Linked DNA regions of Homo sapiens: region 1 is linked to region 2. Evidence: promoter capture Hi-C in 16 types of primary human blood cells and fetal thymus (Javierre and others, 2016). All regions are on one chromosome and are shown on one strand. The core of a region is centred on a gene start or on the middle of the fragment in contact, and the rest is flanking DNA. Distances in the headings are between cores, read along the strand shown.

What was found. Contacts are between HindIII fragments. The CHiCAGO score rates a contact against its expected background, and 5 or more counts as called.
Region 1: a contact is called between a fragment that was not itself captured here and the fragment with the promoter of PPID in region 2, in 5 of 17 cell types (erythroblasts, monocytes, megakaryocytes and 2 more). The highest score is 8.1, in erythroblasts.

Annotation. Positions count from the first base shown.
Region 1 is chr4:158,207,670-158,213,611 of GRCh38, forward strand. TMEM144 (transmembrane protein 144) reads left to right here and starts at 2,817. Exons shown (of 13, transcript NM_018342.5): 1 at 2,817-2,917; 2 at 3,784-3,905; 3 at 4,939-5,107. The coding sequence starts at 4,999. RefSeq lists enhancers at 2,205-2,759, 2,660-2,749. The HindIII fragment of the contact is 3,053 bases long and covers 1,581-4,633 here.
Region 2 is chr4:158,721,528-158,727,866 of GRCh38, forward strand. It overlaps PPID (peptidylprolyl isomerase D), which reads right to left and starts at 1,869. Exons shown (of 10, transcript NM_005038.3): 1 at 1,677-1,869. The coding sequence starts at 1,761. RefSeq lists enhancers at 1,279-1,862, 1,496-1,975, 1,863-2,447. The HindIII fragment of the contact is 3,604 bases long and covers 1-3,324 here.

The DNA.
Region 1 (5,942 bases), core at 1,857-4,356, 510 kb before region 2:
ACTCCTTTTTATGGCTGCGTAATATTCCATAGTTTATATATACCACATCTTCTTTATCCAATCAACTACTGATGGACACTTAGGATGATTCCTAATTGTGAATAGTACCCCAATAAATATATGAGTGCCAGTGTCATTGATTATAACAATTTCTTTTCCTTCAAGTAGATACCCAATAGTGGGATTGCTGGGCCAAATGGTACTTCTATTTTCAGTTATTTGAGAAATCCCCATACTGTTTTCCGTAGGGGTTTTACTAGTTTACATTGTCATTAACAGTATATACGCATTCCCTTTTCTCTGTATCTTTGCCAACATCTAAAACTCTGTTTTCTAGTTGTCCAGAATCCCTGAGCTGTGAACTTCATAAGGGTTTCTTCTTTTGTTTTTCTCCTTATGTGAGAAAGAAAGTGTAGAAGGTGTTCAAACTGTCTAGTTGCCTTTTCTCTAATTCAGATAAAGCTCTGGGGTAAAGTTTACCTTGAGGACAGGCTTTTGTTTCTGAGTATATTTCAAATAGTTATTGTTTTCCTCCCACATGCCAGAAAAAAGAGGAAACTTTTGTCCTGTCTTCTGAAAGTAAAACTCATTAATGTGTGGATGCTCCCATATGAATGACTCCCACTGTCTCTGAGTTTTCAACTCTCAAGTTAGTCCACACTCAGCCTTCAGCAATAGGCCAAATACTGTATAAATGCCCCCCTATCCTTTACTGGCTCCAGTGGCTTTTGCTGTCCTGATAAGCTGTAATTCTCCGTATTCACCTATTTCTTCAGTTTGCAAAGAGGTGGCATGTCCTATGACATCAATTCTCTGCAGATCTAAAAAGAGTAGTTGATTTTTGATTTGCTCATTTTTTTCTTGTTGTGATGATGGAAGTGGAGACTTTCACACCTTTCAAATGTCAGAGCAGAAACCAGAAGTCCTAGTAATAATGTTATATATATATATATATATATATATATATATATATATATATATATATATATATCTCTTTTGACCACATAAAAGGGGGAGGTGCACAGGTCTTATTATTATCATTTTACATATAAGAAAACTAAGGTTTAAAGAGATTAAATGAGTTTCCATGAGAAATATTGCTAACAGACGAAGCTAAAGTCAGAACCTGGATCTTCTAGTGTCTGCCAGGACTCTCCCAATACAGACCATTCTGTTTAGGCATTCATGTATACGAAACAATTTGAAAGAAAAATTTTAGTTTAAGAATAGAGTCATGCATGTTTGGATTTGCTCTGTGGCATAATGTAAAAGGCAATGGCCTAGCATATCCCTAATGAATCTTCTCAGGCCTAATTCAGCCCCCAACTCACTTTTAGACTTTAGAAATTCTCAGCAAATGCTGACACAAGCTTCAGTTTCTCCATGTGAGTGAAGCAAGAATAAACCACATGATCTTGTGACCATGAAGTGAAACAATTCTAGGTTGGATTTAGGCCCTATATTTTTGGAAGCAAGTTTGTGTATGTGTGTGTGTCTTAGGTGTGCATGTGTGGAAAGGGGAACTGATTTCTTCAAAATCTTTCTGAACTGCTAAATTAATCCTCTTCCTTAAGTGAAAAAGCTTTGCTGCTTTAATTCTTTAAATGAAATGTTATTTTGCCTTCCCATCTGCTCATCTGACATGATAGTCTATGGATGTGATTAATGTTTAAGGCAGAACTTCCTTCTAGGAAATGTCATATTTTAACAGTCCTTGTGTTTTCTCCTTCCTGTGAATGCTACACCCATTACCAACCACTGGATGGTCTCGGGTTAAATAGCACTTCCTCAGAGAAGGCTTCTTTGAACTCAGACTAGCACAGAACCTACACTTCCCCTTTCCAACTTAAAGTTTGCATCCTTTGGTGTATGCGAACCCACATGAAGAGATGTTTTTTTTGTTTTGTTTTTTTTTTGAGAGGACTCCCTCACTTTGGGAGGGCGAGGCGGGCGGATCACCTGAGGTCAGGAGATCGAGACCATCCTGGCTAACACGGTGAAACCCCGTCTCTACTAAAAATACAAAAAAATTAGCCAGGTGTGGTGGTGGGTGCCTGTAGTCCCAGCTACTCAGGAGGCTGAGGCAGGAGAATCGCTTGAACCCAGGAGGCGGAGGTTGCAGGGAGCCGAGATTGCACCACTGCACTCCAGCTTGGACGAGAGCGAGACTCCGTCTTAAAAAAAAAAAATACAGATAAATGGCCTGTACAGATAAATGGCTTAGGTGCATCTACAAAGAATTAGTGATTACAAGTGAAATCTTGTAATGTCACAAGAAATGTTAATGACGTCAGTGGTGCAGATGAATTTCTTAATACCAAGTGGAAAAATTCACTTGAGATAATCTTTTACAATGGTGTGAAATTCCTCAGACTTTTGTTTTATCCATAAACTGCACAAATAATACCTCCCTCTGTGACACTTAGAGAGGGTGACATGCTGAGAGTTTCCTGAATAATCACCTCTTGAAATACACAAAACTCTTCTAGTTTCCTGGTTGACCGACCCAGGGCTTGACGACTCCTTTTGAGCCACCTGACAATTCAGTCCAGCACAGCAACTGAAGGAAGGCGTTCCCCAACCTGCTGTCCTATGAAGGCCTCTAGGTCACCGGTGCTAAAGCCCTCCTTTCTCCACCCTCCTTAAGTGGAGGTAAACGTCCCAGCAGGAAGTCAAGGCTGGATTGGCGCTCTTCGCGAGCACCCTGGGAACGGGAGTCTGGGTCACGGGTGCTAGAGCCCTCCCCTCTCCTCCCGGCCGGTGTATGGGAAATTGTCCCCGCAGAAAGTAAAGGCTGGCCAGGCCGCCCCCAGCACGTAGAGGGAATGAGTCAGGCTCCGGCTCCACACTGGCACGTAGTGGGCGGATCGCGCCGGCGCTGAGTAGGAAGGAGCTTCAGCCGCCAGCCCGGAACGCAGTGAGTACAGCCACTCAAAGGAAAGCCAAGTCGCTTTGCAGGGGAGCGTCTCATGATTTTTCAGAAACGTGCTCATGGTTAAAAAGAAAAATCAAGGCTCGGAATAAATACATTCAAGCACTGTTAATTTTAGCCCAAAGACAGGCGGTACTTGCCTGGAGATTTGGGAAAATCAACATGAAACTAAAAATGAAATTTTAGTTGGAGTGGAGCAAGCAGTATTGATCAGAACATACCAAATACGAATTTTTTCAAAGTCTGCGTAGAAGTTTAAATTACTAGGAAAAATGTAAAGGAGAAGTATTTACTAATAAATGAAACAAAAGTAATAAAATAAAAATGAATTAATATAGTTTGACAAAATATCAGCGAACGCTGAAAAGAAAACATTAAAATAATGTTTGAGACTTTTTAGGTTTTGTGCAGGAAGAATTGGGAAAAATGTGCTGGATGGAGTGATACTGCTTTTCTTTTCCACAAAAATTTCATTATTTTAGAGAGCGGTAGAGCCTTTTTAAAGACAGTAAGTTATTGCCAATTCACAATGAAATAAGATCACATGCTCTGAAATGTACAAGAGCTGCATGCAATAAACTTCATTTATCTATAGGTAATAACTGATTGATGTTTATTCAGTAGTCGAAATGCACCTCATGCACTCTAATTAGCACGTCAAATTAGTCTCTCCGTTTCAGAGGTGTAGGGCCTTTGTGGAGCCTTCTCAATAAAATAATTTGCCACTCTTGAAGGTTAGACATTCTCTTCTATCAATGTACACATAAAGGTTTTGTTTTGCTTTGCTTGTTGTGAATTAAAATGGGGAGAAAATGATGTGTTAGCTATCACCCAGTCATGTGTCTTTTTAGTCATAGGTTAGCTTTTCAAGACACTTCCTGCATCTCTGACCTGTTGCACCTCTGTTATCTTGGCACCTCTGTTATCTTAGCAGCAAGCACCTGCCTCAGCTGACCCTTGAGCCATAACCCATGTAAGTCACTGCAGGGCTGAACCTCTCTTTGAGCCTAACAGTAGAATAATAATTATTTTTATTGAATAGTGTTAATGTGTCAATGTTGAAATGTGCCTCAGTGTGTCTTCCTCAACCACATCCCTATAGAGGATGTTTTCTTAATAGCAATGTGTTTTTGTTTTAAGAAAGTCCACACAATTTCAAATACACATTTTCTTTACTAAAGTTTATTGACCAGTTTTGAAGTGATCCTTGTTTTCAGTTAAACTATCTTTAATAATGGTAAATAACATATTTTGTAGGTTGTTGTATATTTAATATTCTCTGCAAGAACACATAAGGAACAATACATGGACCTTTAAATATTTGTCATTGTGAAATAAAATAACAAGGAAAGGTGATTTCAGGTGTACTTTATTCAATACATATATACAAGAAGTTATTACTATAACATTAAATTTGCAGGAAAAAAGAAACCACTGGATTATTCTGCTTCTATTCCAGAGGGCTTATTCCAAAGGGCCAGTGTGCAAAATATGAATCCAAGATGGCATTGTGGAAAGACGCTGTACCTCCTGTGATAAAATTACTTTGGTGGTGCTTTTTTCTCATGTATCTCGGGAAACTAAAAATCTGAATTGTATTCAGTGGCCTTTTCCAAATGGTAACTTTATGAAAAAATGTCTAATTCTTGGTTATTTGTGGTTTTAGTCCTTTCTTCATAGAGAAGCTAAAGCTGTTAAATAAGCTTAGCAGCGTTATCCGCTAAAACTTTCTGCAGTGATGGAACCTACACAGGAGAATTTTTTTTGTAATGTACTAAAAATTTGTCTTCAGGGCTTGTTCTTTTTAAATTGTAGGCTAGTGATCAAAAATATTTGGTGATAGAATAAATTAACATGAAGTACAAACATTATATATAGTTGTGTAATATCCTATCTGCAAAAAGGAGTCTTAGCGTGCTTTTGAAAAATTCAATAAATATAATATGTTAATCACAATTTGGTCACAGATTCACGTCTCAATTGTTTCATTTTTTCTTTTATTTCAGAAGCTCCTGAAAAGTACATCAAGTCTAAAGTGAACCAGCTAACTCATTAAGACTGGAATCATGAGCAACAATGGAGCAGACCTAACCTTTGGTTACATCTCCTGTTTTGTAGCTATCCTTTTGTTTGGCTCAAATTTTGTGCCACTTAAAAAATTTGATACTGGTGATGGTAATTATTTTTCCTTGATTGTTAACGTTATATTATTTTTAAAAATGAAGTTCCTTTTTTGGTCTTTTAAAAGTATAGCTACAAAAATAAATCATGTTGATCTTGATACCTAGTGAATAGAGCTTAAAATTAGTCATTTGACAGTGCTCATACCAGTTTGTCTGAAAGTCAGAATAGGAGAACCATTAAGGTTGTTTCATGGTAAAGTTAGGGAGGGTACAGTCAGGAAATCTCTTGGGCCATTATATGAATGGAAGAAATTTATAGTCAGTTCTACTATAACACCTGTTTTGAAAACATGAATCTTCAACATGATTGATATATTAGAGAACAATGTAAGCATAACAGATTTTTGGCTTGCTTATGTGCAATTTTGTCCCTGAGAAACCTCTAGATAGGCACAGAAGACTGCACCTAGATGAATAAAGATGTGTGATAATACACATAATGCACGCAGACACACGTACAATCTTCAAATATCGACCAGCTCCCTTAGTTCATCACATGTGGTTATGATGTATTCCACCCAACCACATCTCCTGTCCCAACTCCTCACCCAATACCTTCACAGTAACTCGTAAGCTGCAACCCTTTGGATGCTCACTTCCAGGAGCAAACTTCTGGTGTTTTTCAATTAAAATGCCCTATTTATTACAGCATCATGTAATTAACCAGTTAACCAGTTAAAACTGTACTACTATTTTAATTAGGTTGAGTGTTGTTCTCCTAGCCCCATTTTCCCATTATGCTCTGTAGTTTTTACTGCATGATTTTGCATAGTGCAGTGATTTCAAGGAATGCACATGTTACATTATAGCAGAACTGACTAATGTGA
Region 2 (6,339 bases), core at 619-3,118:
GACAAATGATAAAAAGAAGGTTGGTATAATTATGGTAGCAGATCAATCATGAATTACCAAGTTCCCCTTTACTGTAATTTTTCTTTTTTGCAATTTCAAGAACACAACACATTGCTACTAACTATAGTCATTATGTTATACAATAGATCTCTTAAATTTATTCCCCCTTTCTAACTGAAATTAGGTCTCTCGTGATCAACATCTACCCAACCCCTGAAATCCACCATTCCATTCTCTACTTCAAGGTCAACTTTTTAGAAACCACATGTAAGTGAGATCATGCCTTGTCTTCCTGTGCCCAGCTTATTTCATGTAACATAATGTCCTCCATATTAATTCATGTTGTCAGAAGTGACAAGATTTCATTATTTTTTATGGGTGAATAGTACTCCACTGTGCACATATATCAAATTTTAAAAAAAATCCATCTGTAGATGGAAACCTAGTTTGATTCCATTATCTTGGCTATCATGAATAATGCTGCAATGAACATGGGAGTGCAGATACCTCTTTGACATACAAACTTCATTTCCTTTGAATATACTCACTAGAATTAGTGAATCTTATTTTATTCTAATATTCAAATTTAGTCTACCTACTGTCATGTATGTATATAAACAGATTTGAAACATTACACTAAGGATCATAACCAATTATAGTAGCCAAAAGATTAGCACCATGTAAGAGATATCATTAAATACAAATAGTTTTAAATCCTGAGTAATTTCTTCAAGAGGTACTGAGAATTTCCAATCACCAAGCAACCAACGGGAGAAAATTAAACAGTCTTTGGGTGGGCGGACTTGCCACGTGTTACGTATACCTGCAGCCTTTGTGCTCTGAGCAAACTGCCTCATGCAACCTCTGAAGCAAAAGCTGTAAAAATTCCTCCTCTAGATAGCAGCTAAGACAGGTGAGATTAAACCTAGCCCTAGCTAGTTGCAACAAACTGAATGTACGTGTAAACGTGTGTGTGTCCTGTACATGCATTCAAACACATTGCCTGGCCAGCAATTCCAACGTGTTCCAGAACAAGGCCAATCCAGTTACAAAGCAACACGCTCCCTAATTCACCAGGCCTTAGGAACTTCTGAGCGGCTATGTAACCTAGGCAACACCATCACTACGTTGAGCGCATTTTCCCAATGGCAAATTAAGAGAAAATGTTTGCTCATCTGAACGGACCTCTAAATTAAGAATCAGTAATAAGGCAAAAGCAATGAGCAAACAAGTCCCTTTAACGTATAAATAACACAGCACGTGCTGATATATTATCTCATGTGGCAAATATAGTTTCCTGGGGCCCAGCAGACGCATATCCCAGGATATGCTTTCCGAACTGTCCCATTGCAAACATAAAATATTTCATGCTAACTTGGTAGTGCAAAGGTGGCGTGGAAGTGCCACCAAATCAGGAGGCAAACCTAAAGGACGCCACAATTCCCGAACTAGAAATTTCCAGAAACTTCCGCACCACCGATGGCATTGATACAAGGGCGCTGGATCGATCTAGCCCTAGATCTCCGGGCCTGCTCCGGCGGACCAGCCTAGGCAGCCATCCCCTCCGCGAAACTGAGCAGTCACCGGCCGGAGCCGCATTCCGCCCTTGGAATCCCCCAAATCCCGGGAACCCCCGCCTCCTCGGGGCTTTTCCGCGAGCGTCAGACTCCGCTCACCTCGCTCCCCTCCGATGTCCACGTCAAAGAAGACTCGAGGGTTACTGGGGTTGGAGGGCTTGGCTTGGGGGGACGGGTGCGACATCTTGACTTGCAGACGTGTTTAGTACGGAATATCAGAGTACCTAGTGGCCGCCCGGGCCGCCCAAACTCCAGAGTCCGTCTCCGCCGGAGACCGGCAGCGACGCTGACCGGCCACTTCCGACGCAAGAACCGGAAGCCATGGCCTGACTTCCGGCACCGCCCCGCTCCCCCGCGCGGTGTTTCAAAGAGCCTGAGCGACTCCGTGCAGCGAACCGCGTGCCCTCCGCCACCTGTTCCTGGCTTCTCATTTAATGAAGTTGCGATCCCAGTTCTCATTATTCTTCTCGCTTGTGTTTCGTTGTCTTTCCCACCCTCGTGGCGTAGAGAGCTTTGGAGTCAACCCCATGCCAGCGTCAGCTCTGCCACCAAGTTGGGTGTGACTTCTCAGAAACTCAGTTTGCTCCTCTGGAAAAAGAATAAAAACGCTGACCTCGGAAGGTCGTTTTGAGGATTAAAGACATGAATCAGTACAATGCCTGGCATAAACTGGTGGTACCCAACCAATAGGAGCCTTATTATTGCCATGTCGTTACAATTTGATCTTCACATTACAATGTAAGTGGTAAGGCTTAGACTAAACGCTCCAAACAGCTAAAGCTGAGAGTCCAGAAGAGAGCACAGTTTTGATTCCTGATAAAACTGTATTTGGCGGGGCGCGGTGGCTCACGCCTGTAGTCCCAGCACATTGGGAGGCCGAGGCGGGCGGATCATTTGAGGTCAGGAGTTCGAGACCAGCCTGACCAACATGATGAAACCCGTCTCTACTAAAAATAAAAAAAAAAAAAATCACCCGGGCGTGGTGGTGCTTGCCTGTAGTCCCAGCTACTCGGGAGGCTGAGGCAGGAGAATCGCTTGAACCCGGGAGGCGGCGGTTGCAGTGAACCGAGATCGCGCCACTGTACTCCAGACTGGGTGACAGAGCGAAACTGTCCCCCCCCCCCCCAAAAAAAAGAAAAACAAAAAAATACTGTATTACTATAGCCCACTTTTCCCTTATGGGGATCTGTGTAAAACATTTACTTTTTACACACACACACACACACACACACACACACACACACACACATATATATGAGGAGAACATAGCCTTGCCTCTTAATAAAGCCTAATTTTGGAGAAGAGTGGCAATTCCCTGTGTAGATGCTTTGCCCTGTAGTTCTATTGGAGCTCAGCAATTTGGATTCAGCCTGAGGCTTACTTTATCAATAAGGCAGGAGATATCCTTAGATGCTTCACATTTTTTTTTCTTATGAGAAAGTAAAAAGTATTGGAATCCAGCACTCAAATAATGTCTCAAAAGCCAGGAGCCTTGTGTCAACAGCAGCAGCCAGAGTGGCTTTTTGGAAGGAAAGACCAGTGCTAATTTTCCCCTATCAGAGCTGTCACCATCCCTCTAGATGAAGGCTCCTGCCCTACTTGCTACCCGGTCTTAGGATAAGTAAAAGTTAGAAGGGTTACGGTTAAAGAACAACTGATTCCTATTCTCAATTTGAATTTGCCTGTGATGTTATACACTGGACTAAGCACGAAAGTTGATGTTAAAAAAGAAAAAAAAAAAAGCAAAAGCTTCAAGTTCTGACTACATGTATACTAGGCATGTTACCAAAGAAAAGTCATTTAATTTCTCTGAACCCTTCTCATTTCCTTTTCGGTAAAGTGCCAAAGAACAGGGTATGAGAATGGAAAAAGATAATGTGTAAGCATTTGCCTTGTAATCTCTAAAGCATTCTTATACACTCTTTTTTAAATTACTGAAAATTAGATGCTATAGTGCCTGAAGTTGTTTTAAAATAACCTGGAGTCAGGTAAGTGGGTTGGGTTGTGGATGAAACATAAGGGCCAGGCAGATGATTGGTGCATGGGAGTTTATTATACTACTCTTCTTTATTTTGCACATTTAAATTTTTTCATAATATTTTAAAAAGTAAAAGAGAAATTACATGTATTACTAGCTACTCATAATAAAACCAATTTGTTGGCCGGGTGTGATGGCTCACGCCTGTAATCCCAGCACTTTGGGAGGCCAAGGTGGGTGGAAGGCTTGAGCCCAGGAGTTCAAGACCAGCCCAGACAACATGGTGAAACCTCATCTCTACAAAAAATATTTTCTAAACAATAAATAAATAAATAATAAAACCAATTTATAGAGTCGTTTTTAATTAAAATACCAACATACCTTTTGTGAAAAAATAAATAATAGGTGTCGGTGAAATTTTAGGACAAATCAGTAAGGATATTATATTGATTGAATTTTTCTGTGTAATCACAAATTTGCCTTATTAACAAAATGCATACATACATAGGCATGTCCACATAGATACTCAGCAAAAGTTGATTCAATTATATGACAAATATTTAGCTCTTACTGTATGCCAGCCTCCATTCTGAGTGCTGATGATACAATGATGAAAAAACATATTCCTTATCCTTTTTTTTTTTTTTTTTTTTTTTTTGAGACAGGGTCTTGTGCTATCACCCAGGCTGGAGTGCAGTGGTGCAATCACAGCTCACAGTAGCCTCAACCTCCTGGACCCAAGTGATCTTCCCACCTCAGCCTCTTGAGTAGCTGGGACTACAGGCACATGCCGCCATGCCCAGGTAATTTTTTTTTTTAATTTTTAAGTGTAATTCAAAATGATTTCCTATCAGATTTCCTTGCTGATCCTTTCAAATTCCAGCACATTAAAGTTAATACAAAATGTTAATTTCTTATGTTCTCCAATTCCTGGTGTTTATTCATGGTATTTATTCATGGTGGTTCCCTGAAGATCCAGGACGGCTCAGAACAAAACTCCTGTGTCTCTTGATAAACAAGAGCATCAAAATCATTCATTAATCCAGTCTCATGTCTGGGCTGCAAACTGATAACTTATATTTTGTCTCATATATATCACAATAAGTTCACATTAACATTTTTATTCTGATCTACTAGCTTAAATTTAACATTTTAGTAGAGATGGGGTTTCGCCATGTTGCCCAGGCTGGTCTTGAACTCCTGGGTTCAAGCAATCTGCCCACCTTGGCCTCCAAAAGCATTGCAGGCATGAGCCACCACGCCTGGCCCCTTATCCTTAACTACACAAATTATACAGTCTTATGGGGGAGAAAGACTATTGAATAAACCTCTACAATGCAATATAATTAGTGTTTTAATAGGAAAAAGACAATCACATTCAGCACACAGCAGGGGCACTGAACACAGTAGCCTTTTCTAAGGTCAGAAATATGAGTAAGATCAGTCACAGGAGCATATGTGGCAAGGAAGACAGGTAAGGAGGGAACAGGTAAAGAGCATCTTCAAAGGAGGGGAACTATATATACTTATAAAGTGAAAATGGGCAACGAGAATGTTATTTCTCCATGAGAAGCCAGTTTTTTAGATAGTGCTGCTACTTCAGGTGGGTGTGGACCACTTGTGTATTAGTCCATTTTTCACACTGCTATAAAGGAATACCCGAGACTGTGTAATTCATAAAGGAAAGAGGTTTAATTGACTCACAGTTCCACATGACTAAGGAGGCCTCAGGAAACTTACAATCATGGCAGAAGGTGAAGGGGAAGCACACTTGGACCTTCCCACGTGGTGGCACGAGATAGAAGAGTGAGGAGCGAAGGGGAACAACCTCTTATAAAACCATCAGATCGCATGAGAACTCACTCACTATCACAAGAACAGCATGGGGGAAACCACCTCCATGATCCGATCTCCCTAGACACCTGGAGTCTCTCCCTAGACACATGGGGATTATGGGGATTACAGTTCAAGATGAGATTTGGGTTGGGACCTAACCATATCAACTGGTTTCAATGTTGAAATCAGAAGTCATGCTTTGGTTTGTATTTTTGTCCAGCTCCTTCAGATTGAGTTTTCAAAATGAGTAACAGTTTTATAACCTAGCCCATTTTATCCCTGAAATAGAAAGGAAAAAGAACACTAAGAGGAGCAAACTCAAAGATACCCCTAATTTACCTTTCCATAGCACTTATAACTTTGTAATATACTGTTTACTTACTTATTTCACATACTCATTAAAAATCAGCTCCTTGGGAATGATAGATAGTAAGAGGAGTTTAAAAAAACAAAATTTAGCTCCACAAGGACAAGAACCTTTGTTTTTTTCATTACTCTATCCCCAGCACTTCTAACAGTGCCTGACACATAGTAGGTGCTCAGTAAATATTTTTGAATGAATGAATTATACAAAATACTAATGGCTTTGAGAATTTTATGAAACAATGTTAACAAGAAATTTTATTTCCATGCCTTTAAGTGTAATTCAAAATGATTCTGTGTATCAGATTTTCATGCTGATCCTTCCAAATTCCAGCACATTAACATAAATATAAAATGTTAATTTCTTATGTTCTCCAATTCCTGGTGTTTATTCACGGTATTTATTCATGGTGGTTCCCTGAAGACCCAGGACGGCTCAGAACAAAACTTCTGTATCCCTTGATAAACTAGAGCATCAAAATCATTCACTAATCCAGTTTCATGTCTTGGCTGCAAACTGGTAACTTTGTCTCACATATATCACAATAAGTTCACATTAACATTTTTATTCTGATCTACTAGCTT